Linked DNA regions of Homo sapiens: all the other regions are linked to region 3. Evidence: promoter capture Hi-C in human tissues and cell types (Jung and others, 2019). All regions are on one chromosome and are shown on one strand. The core of a region is centred on a gene start or on the middle of the fragment in contact, and the rest is flanking DNA. Distances in the headings are between cores, read along the strand shown. Region 1 overlaps ZNF253 (zinc finger protein 253). Region 2 has its middle 10 kb from the start of ZNF253. Region 3 holds the start of GMIP (GEM interacting protein).

Region 1 (4,708 bases), core at 1,805-4,304, 230 kb after region 3:
ACCATTTAGAATGTGCTAGAGCAGCCTCTATGAGGGGATCTTTTCTTTGATTGTATTCCACTTGCTGTAACACCAAAGGATGCAGAGCCAGGTGGATCCTACCTAGAATCTGCAGATAAGTTCTGGCCTCTACCACAGATTTACAAAAAAGGGCCGGACTTTGGATTGTGAACGTACAGAAAACTAACAAAAGGCATTTTCTGTATTGTGAGATGTCAGCATAGACATCCTACAGCCCCCATTTGGGAATGTGGCTCTGTGAGATTTTTCACATCTTGTTCATTGACCTGCTACAGTTATGTCAGAGGCTCTAGGAAGAAATAGAATCTGATGGCAGAATCTGTAAGTGTAAATAAGCATCTTAGGAGTGAGAGATCAAGGCCACAAAGTATCCAGAGCCATGACCACAACTATATTTACCTGTAAAATGGGATACTGGAGTAGAGTATTTTTGTTCTTTCTCTTACCCAAAGAGCTAGCAAATCAGAACAGGTGATCCAGGTTCTGGAGCTCCACCAGTGCAGTTCTGTTTTTTATTTAGAATCAGCCCGAGTCTCTCCAGCCTGGCTTATCATTGGGCCATCAGCCCTGGGACACTGGGAATTCTCTCACAGTCTCCTAGGTGTATTTGAGGTATTTGAGGATGTCCAGAGCAGAATTGTGTCAGGCTGAAAAGTGTGGTTAATTCTGCTTCTGTCTCAGTGTAAGAGAAATGAGTCATCCTGTGTTTGTTCATCCTCTCATACAAGAGGTTTCTTTGGTTGGTACCAAGATGAGAGTTTCTCCAGTTTCTGGTGCTTGAATGAAACAAGGATGAGATCTGGAGACCCAAATAGATAAAGTATTTCCTTACATCTCATATAACCATTAAAAAAAATGAAGCAGTCATGGTTCCTACAATCCAGAAACTTTTAGTCTAGATTAGCTACTGGATAAATAATTGAATTATGTGTCATATGGTTGGTGCAATAAATAGATGTGTCCAAAATCTTGGGCTTTATTTAGACCACTTTCTTTATATTGTTGTGACTTGTGATGTCTACACCTGTAGGGATATTCATGAACAGAAGAATTGTTATTATAATTAATTTTTGGTTTTTTGAGATAGAGTCTCTGTCGCCCAGGATGGAGTGCAATGGCGGGATCTCAGCTAACTGAAACCTCGGCCTCCCGGGTTCAAGTGATACTCCTGTCTCAGCCTCCAGAGTGTCCGGGATTACAGGTGCCCACCACCATGCCCAGCTAATTTTTTGTATTTTTAGTAGAGATAGGGTTTCACCATGATGGTCAGGCTGGTCTTTAACTCCTGACCTCAGGTGGTCTGCCCGCCTCGGCCTCCCAAAGTGCTGGGATTACAGGCAGGAGCCACCGCGCCCAGCCACATATTTATTTTCTAATAAAATTAGCCTAGGAAGGCCTGGTGCAGTGCCTCACACCTGTAATTTTAGCACTTTGGGAGGCCGAAGCGGGCAGATCACAAGGTCAGGCGTTCCAAACCAGACTGGCCATTATGGTGAAACGCTGTCTTTACTAAAAATACAAAAATTAGCTAGGCATGGCGGCACACGCTTGTAGTTTCAGCTACTCGGGAGGATGAGTCAAAAGAACAGCTTGAACCTAGGAGGCGGAGGTTGCAGTGAGCCAAGATCATGCCAGTGCGCTCCAGCCTGGGCGACAGAGCTCCAAAAAGAAAATAAAAATTACCCTAGAAAACCTTTGGGGATTTGTTTAAATTGCATAGTAGTGTATAGTATAAAGTTGACAGGGCGGTGGCTAGAAAATATAAAAATTACAGAAACAGGCCGGGCGCAGTGGCTCACGCCTGTAATCCCAGCACTTTGGGAGGCCGAGGCAGGTGGATCACGAGGTCAGGAGATCGAGACCATCCTGGCTAACACGGTGAAACCCCGTCTCTACTAAAAATACAAAAAAATTAGCCGGGCGTGGTGGTGGGCGCCTGTAGTCCCAGCTACTTGGGAGGCTGAGGCAGGAGAATGGCGTGAACCCGGGAGGCGGAGTTTGCAGTTAGCCGAGATCGCGCCACTGCACTCCAGCCTGGGCGACAGAGAGACTCCATCTCAAACAAACAAACAAACAAATTACAGAAACTCTGAGATTTAAGTTTCTTTTAGATAAGCTTAGAAAAAACAAAACTGGAAGTACCCTAGTGGCATAGAGAACAGAATTCTACATAGGGTTCTCACCCTATCCTAGGTCTGTTAAGATTCACCCTTTTTGGAGGCCTTATTTAGGTCTGCCTCTATCCTGGAGTCTTGCCTCACAGAACTGATCAGAAGAGATCAGAGTTTTGGCTGGTGAATCCTGCTGCCTTTCTAGAGCTGGTGCTTAGAATTTACTGAAACTCAAAAGCAGATAAATCAGAAAAACAAAGTATGTATTAGAGGGTGTTAGTTTTTAAGTTTTCTATGAATCCAGTGCTAACAGAGACATTCTATTTAGCAACTTGGTTTCTATTCCTGCAGATCCAGTAGTTGCTCCTCAAGTCACAAAAAAAGAAGTAAATATAAACAGAATAAAATTTTCTCTAAACTACATTAAACTCTTTCTTTCTTTCTTTCTTTTTTGAGATGGAGTGTCTCTCTGTCGCCCAGGCTGGAGTGCAGTGGTGGATCTCGGCTCACTGCAAGCTCTGCCTCCTGGGTTCACGCCATTCTCCTGCCTCAGCCTCCCAAGTAGCTGGAACTACGGGCACCCACCACCACGCCCGGCTAATTTTTTGTATTTTTAGTAGAGACGGGGTTTCACCGTGTTAGCCAGGATGGTCTCGATCTCCTGACCTCGTGATCCGCCCGCCTCGGCCTCCCAAAGTGCTGGAATTACAGGCGTGAGCCACCGCGCCCAGCCATTAAACTCTTTCTTTCTTTATCTTGAAATCTGTCTACATTTAGCTTTTATTCTATGTAATTTTTTTAAAAAGTTGATGATGGAGAAACAGAGGAAGAAATAAAAATGCTGGGCCCTTTATCTAAATCCTGGAAATTATTAAACCCTTAGTACCAGCTTCCAGGGTATTATGAGAACTAAATCACATAATGTGTTATGCCCAGCACAGTGCTCTGTATCATATTCTTGAGCACATTGTACCTCATTAATAAACATTGCATTAGTACATGTGTACATGTTGTTTTTTAAATATAGACTTATTCAGACATTGCTGCTTTCTGTTTCTTCTGTAAACTTTAAAGAGCCAGCAAAGAATATAAAACTTTAGGATGGAGTTGGGTTGTCTTTATTTGTACCAGAAGTATTTGGTTGTGACAAGAGTGCTGAGTGTAAGCGACCCTGTGCTGTGCCTGCTTCTCTAACTAATGCTAACAATGAGCCCAGGGGGAGCAACATCAGCATTGACAGAGAACTTGTTTAAAACACCCATTTATGGACCCTTTTCAAACCTGCAGAATCATATTACATAAAGTGGAGTCAAAATTATCAAGTGATTTATAAGCTCATTAAAACTTTACAGGCAGTGCTCTCATTCATGAGAGTTAAGTTCCACCTTTGCACTAAAGGGTGGTCACAGGGCCTGTTCTGTTTGGGTTTGGTAGGGATAGGTCAGTGTGGCACATATTTCCATTACTGTAGCAAAAATTGCTGGTGTCTGTGGCAGGGGAGGGCACCTGAGGACAGGAAAGGAGAAACTTATATTTTTATCTTCATGAAGCAGCTCATTGTTCCTGAATCTCTTCTGTTTTAAAGGACAGAAAAGGGTGGACTTTTTCTGTGTTTTTTTTCTTTCTGCCATTTGATGTCATGCTAGCAGGTAAACAGGTGGTGCTGACACTTTTAAGGGCATATTATCAAGATACGGGTGTAATTTGTACAGAGAATCTCGTCTGAGAAGGAATTCCAGAGAAGCAAGAGAGGGAAAAGTGGCTTTTCTGTTTCAGATCAAGAGCTGTATTCACTCTGCCTCCTCGAATGCTATGCATTTAGTACTCACAAACTTTTACTTCTCTACTTTTGCTTTTTTTTTAATGAGTTTGGTTTAAGTACTTCTTAAAATTCTTATGATAGTCAAGAGTCTCTGTAAAATATTTATTTTCTATACCTTAGAGCCTTCTCTACATTTGCTGCATCATAGCTTCTTATATGCCATGCAGGATTCTCAGCAAGACTTTATAATCTGCAATATTAAAAATGTTCCCTTCGTGGCTGTTGAACATGGAAAGACGTGGATACTCAAGATTTCTATTGGGGAAAACTGTGGTCCTTAGTAAAGATGGAGAACATGTAATGTTGAGGCTCCATCTGTGTGTTCCATTAGCTCTATGCAGAATAGGATTAGGGAAATGCTTATTTAAAAGGGATGGCAGTTATTACCCAGAAAGTTCTGAAAGAAAATTAAGGTACCTGCTCTCTAGGGAGCTAAATGAAGCCTACTTAAAATTCCTACTAAAAGTTACAGAACATAGGAGTTATCTATATTTTGAAGTTAGCATAAAACATGTTTCTTTATGGTTAAATTCAGATTTTATTTACTTTCTTTGGGAGGAATATTTCAACAGTGATGCTGTGTTCTTCTTCTTCTTCTTTTTTTTTTTTTAAGAAGAGTTTCACTCTCATTGCCCAGGCTGGAGTGCAATGGTGCAATCTTGGCTCACTGCAACATCTGCCTCCCAGGTTCAAGCAATTCTCTTGCCTCAGCCTCCTGAGTAGCTGGGATTACAGGCATGTGCCACAACGCCCA
Region 2 (4,727 bases), core at 885-3,384, 210 kb after region 3:
ATTTAGATAAAGGGCCCAGCATTTTTTCTTCTTCTGTTTCTCTGTCATCAAAATTTTTAAAAAACTGTAAAGAGTAAAAGCTAAATATAGGCAGATGAAGGAGACATAGAAAGGAAGAGTTTAACATAGTTTAAATTTTATTCTGTTTACGTTTACTTTTTTGTGACTTGTGGAATAACTACTGGATCTGCAGGAAGAGAAAACAAGTTGCTAAATGACTCTGCACGCACTGGTTTTAATAGAGAATTTATAAAATATGACCCTAAAATACACACTTTGTTTTTCCTGTTTATGTTTTTGTGTTCCAGGAAATTGTGAACACCACTTCTAGAAAGGCAGCAGGATTCACCAGCCAAAACTCTGATCTCTTCTAATCAGTTCTGTGAGGCCAGACTCCAAGGTAGAGTCAGACCTAAATAAGGCCTCCAAAAAGGATAAATCTGAACAGGTCTGGGGCAGGGCAAGGCCCCTATGTAGAATTCTGTTCTCTATACCATTAGGGTACTTCCAGTTTTGTTTTTTCTAAGCTAACCTAAAAGAAACTTAAATCCCAGAGTTTCTCTAATTTTAATATTTTCTAGCCACTGTCCTGTCAACTTTATACTATATACTAATATGCAATTTAAACAAATCCCTTATGGTTTCCTAGGGTAATTTTATTAAAAAATAAATACGTACACTTAACAAAGTAAAATAAATAGAAATTATATGGCCGGCACTGTGGCTCATACCTGTAATCCCAGCACTTTGGGTGGCCAAGGTTGGTGGAACACGAGGTCAGGAGTTCAAGACCAGCCTGACCAAGATGGTGAACCCTTGTCTCTACTAAAAATATAAAAATTAGTTGGGCGTGGTGGCAGGCATCTGTAATCCCAGCTACTCAGGAGGCTGAGACAGGAGTATCACTTGAATCTGAATGGCAGAGCTTGCGGTGAGTCGAGATTGTGCCACTGCACTCCAGAATGGGTGACAGAGTGAGACTTTATCTCAAAAATTAAAAAGTAATTAGAATAACAATTCCTCTGTTCATAAATATCCCTTATGTGTAGATGTCAGAAATCACAACAATATAAAGGAAGTGGCCCAAATAAAGCTTAAGATTTTGGACACATCTATTTATTGTACCAACCATATGATGCATAATCCAATTATTTATCTGGTTGCTAGTCTAGACTAAAAGCTTCTGGGTTGTAGGAACCATGACTACTTCATGGTTTTTTTTTTAATGGCCATATGAGATGGAAGCAACTAGTTTATCTATTCGGGTCTCCAGATCTCCTCCTTGTTTATCATCCAAGTACCAGGAAACTGGATAAACTCTCATCTGGGTACCAACCAAAGACACCTCTTGTATGAGGGGAGGAACAAACACAGATGACTCATTTCTCTTACACTGAGACAGAAGCAGAATTAACCATTTTTGTCAACCTGACACAATTCTGTTCTGGACATCCTCAAATGCCTCAAAGACACCTAGGTTATTGTGAGATTATTAGATATCATTGGGCTGATGGCCCAATGATAAGCCAGGCTGCAGACTCGGGCTGTTTCTAAATAGAAAATGGAACTGCACTGGTGGAGCTCCAGAACTTGGATCACCCGTTCTGATTTGCTAGCTCTTGGGTAAAAGAAAGAACAAAAATACTCTACTCCAGTATCACATTTTACAGGTAAATATAGTTGTGGTCATGGCTCTGGATACTTTGTGGCCTTGATCTCTCACTCCAAAGATGCTTATTTACACTTACAGATTCTGCCATCAGATTCTATTTCCTCCTGGAACCTCTCACATCACTGTAGCAGGTCAATGAACAAGATGTGAAACATCTCACAGAGCCACATTCCCAAATGGGGGCTGTAAGCTGTCTTTGCTGACATCTCACAAGGCAGAAAATGCCATTTGTTAGTTCTCTGTACATTCACAATCCAAAGACCAGCCCTTTTTTGTAAATCCCAGGCAGAGGCCAGACCTTATCTGCAGATTCTAGGTAGGATCCACCTGGCTCTGCATCCTTTGGTGTTACAGCAAGTGGAGTACAATCCGAGGAGAGATCCCCTCATAGAGGCTCCTCTAGCACATTCTAAATGATAAGTCTACATGAAATAAAAAAAAAAAGCTGACACAACATCAATATAAGTAGACAGTTTATTTGGGTCAAGCTGAAGGATTATAATCTGGGAGCAAAGATTCAAGTTGTCTGGAATCTACACTTTGATTGGCATCAGTTACAAGAGGATTTGTAAAGATAACAAGAGAAGAACAGAGTAGGTAGACACAAAGTTGTTTGTCAGAAATTTTTATGTATTTAGAGAAATAGCATTTATTATTGATTAGATATATATAGTTATGGTTTAGGATATGGGATATAGTGTCCAACGTGTCATTATTAGTTTAATTTATAGCTACTTTTGGCAATCGTGAACAGTTTCAAGAGATGAATACATAGTTCAAAGGAGGGAGAAATAACTGCACTTTCATTTTCATGTCTCTGAGTTTGATAACCAAAGGACTTGCATTTTTTAGATAAAAGTTTTTTATTTCCCAAATCTCAAGACCTAAATTCAAAATTTGGAGCTGCAGATTTAGGGGCTGAAGGACTGGAGCAGCAGCAGATGTTACCTGAACATTTGTGAGCACTTTAGCAAGAGGAGAAAGGGGAACGTGGAGATTCTCATGTCTCTATGTCTACTAATGCACATGTTACTGTGATTGGGTTTCTGGGCTAAATAGTTTTTGTATCAGTTTCAGGCCTGAAGATACAAGAGTCATTGATAGAGGTAAAATGATTGATTGTTGCCCTGTGAAGTTTGTAGAAATGTGGTCTAGCCTCTCTAGAAGTGACTCTAGAGGACTATAGATACCAAATAGGAAGAGACACAATTCTGCCTCCATATTTAGGGGACAGCATGCATTTTGAAGTGCAAATGTGAGTTGACTGGAAGCCTGAGAGGAAAAGTCCCCTCTAGAGTAAATTCTGGTTGGCACCTTATGTGTTTTTATCATGTCTGGTAATTCTAGACAGTGTTTGGAAATGATTAAAAGAAAAATTTTCTCCAGCCCCAGAGAAACTCCACAAAAGTAGCACAGAAAGAAAATGGTTTTATTACACAATTGAACTTAATTGTGACATGCATCATCATCAGTCTGCTTAAGGGATCGCAAAGACAGAAAGATGGTCACCATAATTAGTTCACAAATAGAAGAATTTCCAGCGCCATGTCATACATAGTTCATCCTATGAACAGATTGAAGAGGCCATCTGTGTATGCTAATTGCTTATATTCAATGACAAACTTTTCACATCTTCATAACAGGAAGTAGTTTAGTAGCTTTAATCCAGGTGCCTTCTGAAGGTAGGCTTTCATTGTGCTACAAAAATGGTTGAATAGGGTTCTATCTTTTTGGCTATTTACATTTTAGAGCAGTGGCTCTGTACTCCCTGGCATTGGGTTACAGCACTCCTGCTTGCTTTCTCCTGGTTACTAGTGGCCTCTTTTTTTTTTTTTTTTTGAGACGGAGTCTTCCTCTGTCGCCCAGGCTGGAGTGCAGTGGCGCAATCTCAGCTCACTCCAAGCTCCGCCTCCTGGGTTCATGCCATTCTCCTGCCTCAGCCTCCCGAGTAGCTGGGACTACAGGTGCCTGCCACCATGCCTGGCCTGGCTAATTTTTTGTATTTTTAGTAGAGACGGGGTTTCACCATATTAGCCAGGATGGTCTCCATCTCCTGACCTCGTGATCCGCCCGTCTTGGCCTCCCAAAGTGCTGGGATTACAGGCGTGAGCCACCGCGCCCAGCCTAGTGTCCTCTCTTGACCTATAACATCTGCCACTGAGGCACAGCCTGGAGCACAGCTCACATTTTATATGAACCCCATTTGCCACAGCAGCACTCTAGTGTCACATCAGAGAGTGAGGCCTGAGCTGCAGGAGGAGAGCCTGCAGGCCTCCTGGGTAGAATTACACCTTCACAATCATGAGAATGTGATTAGTGTTTCAGCCTCAGTTTCTACCTATAGTAGGGACATGGAAAAAATACTGCTGAATTTCCAGCATAAGTCCAGATAGAAATAGCTCTAAAAGTTCTCGCTATGAAAGTCCACCTCATGTAGACACCATCGGATATGAATAGGGCTTTTGAAACAGACACCCAAAGCATTGGAGAGAAAAACAGATCTCCATCTGAGCCAGATTATTTTGAGAGAAAAAAGTTCAAAAGATCTTAAGAAAAAGCTCATATTAGATATAAGATTGATCAGCCAGAAGATATTCCCCTAAAAGCAATTTCTCTGTAAACACTCAAAGTGCACAGCTACTCTCAGCATGAGAAACATGAGCCTTATGAAAAAAAAGTGCAGTTTTTCAGAAGAATTTTATAGCCTTTTTCCCATCTTTGCTGGTCTGTCATCTCCTAGCCATTAAATTGGGGTTCTATATTGAAATACATCTGACAACTTTCAACAACACTTTTTGATGAAGAAATAGAAACTGACTGTGTTCATATAGTGGAACATATTAGAACTGGCAACATCGTTAACTGCAGAGCTATTATGGTTTTTGGGTGGCCACATCACCTGTCTCCTGTAATAACAGCATTCCAATTTAGTAAAATAAAAGATACACAAATTGTGTTTACTCACAATTTTCCCTATTGAATAAAGCAATAAACTTGTCACTAATATCTACTGTAAAAATTTGGTAGTAAATTTTCTTTGGATATTAGATATAAA
Region 3 (4,974 bases), core at 825-3,324:
TTACTGTTGCCCAGCATGGTCACGAATTCCTGGCTTCAAGTGATCCTCCTACCTCAGCCTCCACCCTGCCTGGGGTCTCCCTGAGGGCTGGGACTGAGATCTGTTGTGTGTACTGCCATATTCCCAAAACCTAAACGATGCCTTGCATGGAACAGGGGATCAGTGGTGATTTGTTGAAGGAAAGACTCCTGTCTGTCCCCACTGTCCTGGCCTCCAGACCCCCCTACCTGTGAGGGGTACAGGACCCTCTGGGGAGGGGCCGCTCCAACAGCTGGCTTCGTTGGTCTGTGCGGGAGGGAGACAGTATTCAGAAGCAAACAGGGCAGGGGCCTGGCCTTCCTAAGGCCCCCTCTGCTTGAGGTCTTCCTCCCTGTTCCCCTACTCCCCACTCACAACAGTGGCTGTAGGGGTCTTGTCAGGTTCTGGGTCTTCTGAGAGTAGAGGGTCTCCAGCCAGCATCTCAAGGGTCCTGGGGGATAAAGGTGTGTCAGGATGCCACCTTACACCCAGTCTGTCCTGCCAAGGGGTGCTGGGGACCTTAGGGTTGTTTGTGGCAAACATCACCTCTGTGGCATCTCTTGTGTCTGGGAGGTCTGAAGAATGGTGTTTTGGGGGAATCAGGTGAGTTTTTTTTAAATAGGACTTGAAAAAGCATCTGAAGGGCCCCAGATAACTTTGAGGTTCATAGAGTGGGATTATAGGGATCGCAAATATTTTAAGGGGTTACAAGGATATGTAGGGGTTCTAGGACCACTTTGGGGATTTCCAGTCTATTTAGGGGGACACTTTTAGGATACCGAGGCATTTTGGAGGGTCCCATCCTAGACTTCTCTGGTTATTAGGTATGTAGGTCCAGATGTTACAGGTTCCAAATGGGACTGCAAGGCACCTAAATGGTTAGGGGCTTGGGGCATCTTGGCAGGATTTGGGGGTGATCCAGGCTCAGACTCACACGTTCCCCAGTGAGATTTCGAGGTTGTCCAGGCTCCGGAAGATGTCACTGTACCTCTTCCTGCCCTCAGGACCTGGGGGGAGTCCTAGGGGAGGGGAGTGTAATACATGGGCTAACCACTGCCTCCCTCCACCCACGGCACCTCAACCAGTCTCATTTGGAGGGGGTGGAAGAGAAAGGGAAGAGTGAGAGAGAGAAAGAGAGGGCTGGGGGGGGCTTGGTTGGGGCCAACTCGAGGCAGGCAGATGGACTCACACACCACCAGAGACCAGAGACAGCTGCTCGGGGAACAGAGACACCCACTCCCTGGGTCTGCCTGCACCCAGAAGCAAACCAACAAAACAGATGCCCCAGATGCAACCAGGCTGTCCCGAGAAGAAAGCCGGTCTGACAATGGAACCACGGGCTAGACAGATGGAAATACACAAGGGACAGCCAGGCAGAGCCTGGGGCAGAAACACACATGGAGAGACTGAAGCCGTGAGGGACATAAAGACCGAATGACACTCCACATACACAACACAGACACAAAGACGGCCGGAAACACCAAGTCGGACCCCGCCACATTTCTACTGCTGCCCCCCTGCCCCCTCTCCTAAGGGGCCTAGACCAGCACTGCCGACTCCCCAGGGCTACAGAGGGGCCCTGTGGGGATCCTACCGCGTTGCCCTCTCCCTCAGCAGTCGTGGCACCCTGCCCCCATCACAAAAATCAGAAGCAGAAGCAGTCACTTCCCCTTCCTGGGCCCCCTCCCCCAGGCGTCTGGGGTGAGGGATCAAAAGGGGGAGGGGGAGTGAAGGGCTGGGGTCCTGAACCCATCCGGGCACAGGGCTCCCCACAATGGAGGATCCCTGGGTCCTTCCCATTCAGGAACTCCTCTCCTGGCTCTCAGGACGGAGCGGGACAAGTGTGTGCCCTCAATGTAGGAAGCAGGGGATGGTCGGGGGAGGCCCCTCCCGGATCCCCGACCCCCTACCCGGCTCTGCTGCGTCCATATCTGGGCCCGGGGATCGCTCTGCAGGGACCGGGATGGGGATGGGGTCGCGCGCCGGCGGGGCCGAGCCCCGATTTCCTGCCGCCGCAGCCGCCGCCGCCGCCTCGGTTCCGCGTCGCCCTGCCCAGCGGAGGCCACGCCCCCGCATCAGACCACGCCCCCGTAGCCCGGAAGCCTTGATAGTGCCCTTCTCTACCTGAGCCGCTTGAAACTGGGTCGGGCCAGGGCCCCCTGAGCGACCACTCGAGGCTGCAGTGCCCCTGACCTGGGCATCCTAAGACTTCATCTGGGCCATAGGTTCCCTCTCAGATCTTTGTGCTACCCCAAATCCCACGGAGCCCCAGCCCCCTCCTCCCTGAATGGTTGCAGAGTCCACCTGTCCCGGGGGGCCTCTCCCAGGAGCTCCCACAACCCGCGACCCTGGTGATCCCCTTGCCCAGGTTGTCTCTCGGAGCCCTGAAACCACCTGGGCCTCGCTGGAGCCATGGCGCCCCCTGGTGGAGGCCTGATATTCTGTCCGATTCCAACCAAAATTCTAATACTCGGGCTGGAGAACCCCTGGCCTGGGGGACGCCCCTTCCGTGACCCTCAAAGCTGGATCAGGCTCAAGGCCCCAATTACAGCACACCAGGGAGCAGCCCTTTTAGGTAGGGAGTGGAGGTTTGTCCAAAAGCACCAGCTCTGGGGTTGCCACAAGCCGCCTGTTATAAAAATGCTCCCACCCCCAGCACAGTGGAATTTTGGGGCTGGAAATAGACTTTAAAGTATGTTTATAACTTTGTGTCCAAAGGCTTTGGCTGTTAAGGAGGCAAGGATTCTCTGACTGGCTCCGTGCTGCCTACTCTGCAGTTCTTGAGTTGTGATGAGTGAGTCCATTGAAAGGAATAACACTATCAACCTAAGAGCCAAGCCAGGTTTCCAGGTCACATCCTGGCTGATGCTCAGCCAGAGCTCCCTGACTGTGACATGAGATGGTAGAGCAGCGCAGGCCCCCAAAGAGCATGACAGAGTCAGTACTTGTTTGTTTTTCTTTTGAGTTGGAGTCTCGCTCTGTTGCCCAGGCTGGAGTGCAGTGGCGTTATCTCGGCTCACTGCAAGCTCCACCTCCTGGGTTCACGCCATTCTCCTGCCTCAGCCTCCCGAGTAACTGGGACTACAGGCACTCGCCACCATGCCTGGCTAATTTTTTGTATTTTTAGTAGAGATGGGGTTTCACTGTGTTAGCCAGGATGGTCTCGATCTCCTGACCTTGTGATGGGCCCGCCTTGGCCTCCCAAAGTGCTGGGATTACAGGCTTGAGCCACCGGACAGAGTCAATACTTGTAATGATGCAGATCATATTCCTCAAGTCTCAGACACCACCCGAGAGAAAGGCATGCTGTTATGTATTATGGGAAAGAAAAAAATATCACACATCCTAAGGCTTCTCTCAGCACCTGAGTTGTTAAAATGTGAAAGAGACCTCAGAAATATGGGGGTGCTTGTTAAACTAGAAAATATGCACTGAATTCTCTGGGCAGGGACAAGTCCATGTTCAAGTGCTGAAAGTGCCAGAGGGTTTCACCAACATCACACGCCTGTGGGGAGGGTGCTGGGACCTTCCTCAGTGACCCTCTGTCCCCGAGCCCCCAGCAAACACCGTGTGGCACAGACGAGGTGGAGGCAGGGCTTTTTAAAATCTCAGATGCTGCTTTATTTACCAAAGGTGCTGGCTTGGGGCTGGTTCTGCTGGCCAAGCCAGCGGATGGCTGTGGGGGTCCCAGCTCAGTCTTCCAAGGGCGAGACTGTACAGCCTTGCTGTGGGGGGTTGGGGGCAGGGTTCCCTCCCGGGGCCCTGTTGGGGTTCCCGCCCAGCGGCAGCCAGGGTGGGCAGTGGGTACCAGCACTGCCATCTCAGGAAGGCACTTTCAGCTTCGGGGTCCCCAGGAAGAACTGCAGGACGCGGTCGGCCAGGAGCGCCAGGCAGAAGTCCAGGAGCAGGACCTGGGCAATGACCAGCTTGAACTGTCGGGGCAGGGAGGGATGGTGAGCTGGAGACCTGCAGCCCAGCTCAGGGTCACTGCCATAGGAGGGACCCATCAAGCTGAGCCCCAGGGTCACCTCCACAGGGCCACTGACCTCCACAGGGATGTCCACGAGGCCAAACTGGCTGTTGAAGTCGGGCGAGGAGCCGAGGAGCAGGCCAATGATGGCCAGGAGTGAAACTGCCAGACTCCACACCAGGGGCTTGTTCTCGGGCAGGCTCTCCATGAAGGGCGGGCCCTGTGGGGATGAGGGACAGATGGCTTCATGGGGTGGGGCTGGGTGGGCAGACAGTGAATGTTTGGGCAGGGCCCAGGCCTTACTTTGTAATTGATGGCGAAGGTGGCCATCTGCATGGCCATGGCCATGATGTAGACGGTGCTGTTGACCAGGCTTGGCTCAAACTCCTTGTACAAGTCCACGAACTGCTCCTGCCTGCAAGGACACATGGGAGTCAGGGCCCCCTCTCCTGCTCCGGCTCACACACACTGTGTGGCTTCCTGCTGCCCTGGCACAGAGCTAGGGCTCTGCCTGGCCTAGTGCCCCTCCCTGGACACCCTGGACAACCCCCAGCCTCTCCTGCTGAAGTCTGTGGAGTCATCCTCCTGCTATTCTCAGCTGCAGGGACATCACCTCCTCCAAGGCAGCACTTACTTCTCGGGGCTCCGGGCCTGGGCCTCACGGTACAGGTAGACAAGGCTCAGGAAGTGCACAAAGAACTGGAGCATGACGGTGAGGATGGTGTACAGGTTGAAGATGTTGGGCAGGGGCCGTTCTCGGGAGAGGGTCTTGAGGGGCTGCAGCAGCAAGGCGGGTGGGGGAGTCAGGATCTGGCTCACTTGGGGCCACCCTGCCCACACAGCAGGCAGTAACATCCCCTGCCTCCCGGGAGACCTTGTGTACAGCCACCACCAAATCCTGGGGGATTCCATGGGTCAGCACCAGTCCCTGGATCCCTGCCTGCCTCTCACCCCTGAGCCCAGGGCTGCCTCCCTGGCCCCGGCTC

What was found. Contacts are between HindIII fragments. The study calls those that stand out against the background at their distance.
Region 1: a contact is called between a fragment that was not itself captured here and the fragment with the promoter of GMIP in region 3, in 2 of the 25 tissues and cell types used here (dorsolateral prefrontal cortex and liver).
Region 2: a contact is called between a fragment that was not itself captured here and the fragment with the promoter of GMIP in region 3, in 1 of the 25 tissues and cell types used here (liver).

The regions. Positions count from the first base shown.
Region 1 is chr19:19,872,830-19,877,537 of GRCh38, forward strand. All of the region lies in intron 1 of ZNF253 (zinc finger protein 253), which reads left to right. Among named protein-coding and RNA genes, the nearest start is that of ZNF253, 9.3 kb to the left of the region's middle. The HindIII fragment of the contact is 9,890 bases long and covers 1-4,708 here.
Region 2 is chr19:19,853,059-19,857,785 of GRCh38, forward strand. It overlaps the pseudogene BNIP3P9. Among named protein-coding and RNA genes, the nearest start is that of ZNF253, 10 kb to the right of the region's middle. The HindIII fragment of the contact is 3,965 bases long and covers 153-4,117 here.
Region 3 is chr19:19,641,583-19,646,556 of GRCh38, forward strand. GMIP (GEM interacting protein) reads right to left here and starts at 2,075. Exons shown (of 21, transcript NM_016573.4): 1 at 1,929-2,075; 2 at 953-1,037; 3 at 394-469; 4 at 228-285. The coding sequence starts at 1,947. It overlaps ATP13A1 (ATPase 13A1), which reads right to left. Exons shown (of 26, transcript NM_020410.3): 23 at 4,623-4,765; 24 at 4,292-4,403; 25 at 4,065-4,208; 26 at 3,616-3,950. The coding sequence ends at 3,840. RefSeq lists enhancers at 952-1,907, 1,129-1,288 and a silencer at 1,919-2,168. The HindIII fragment of the contact is 23,421 bases long and covers 1-4,974 here.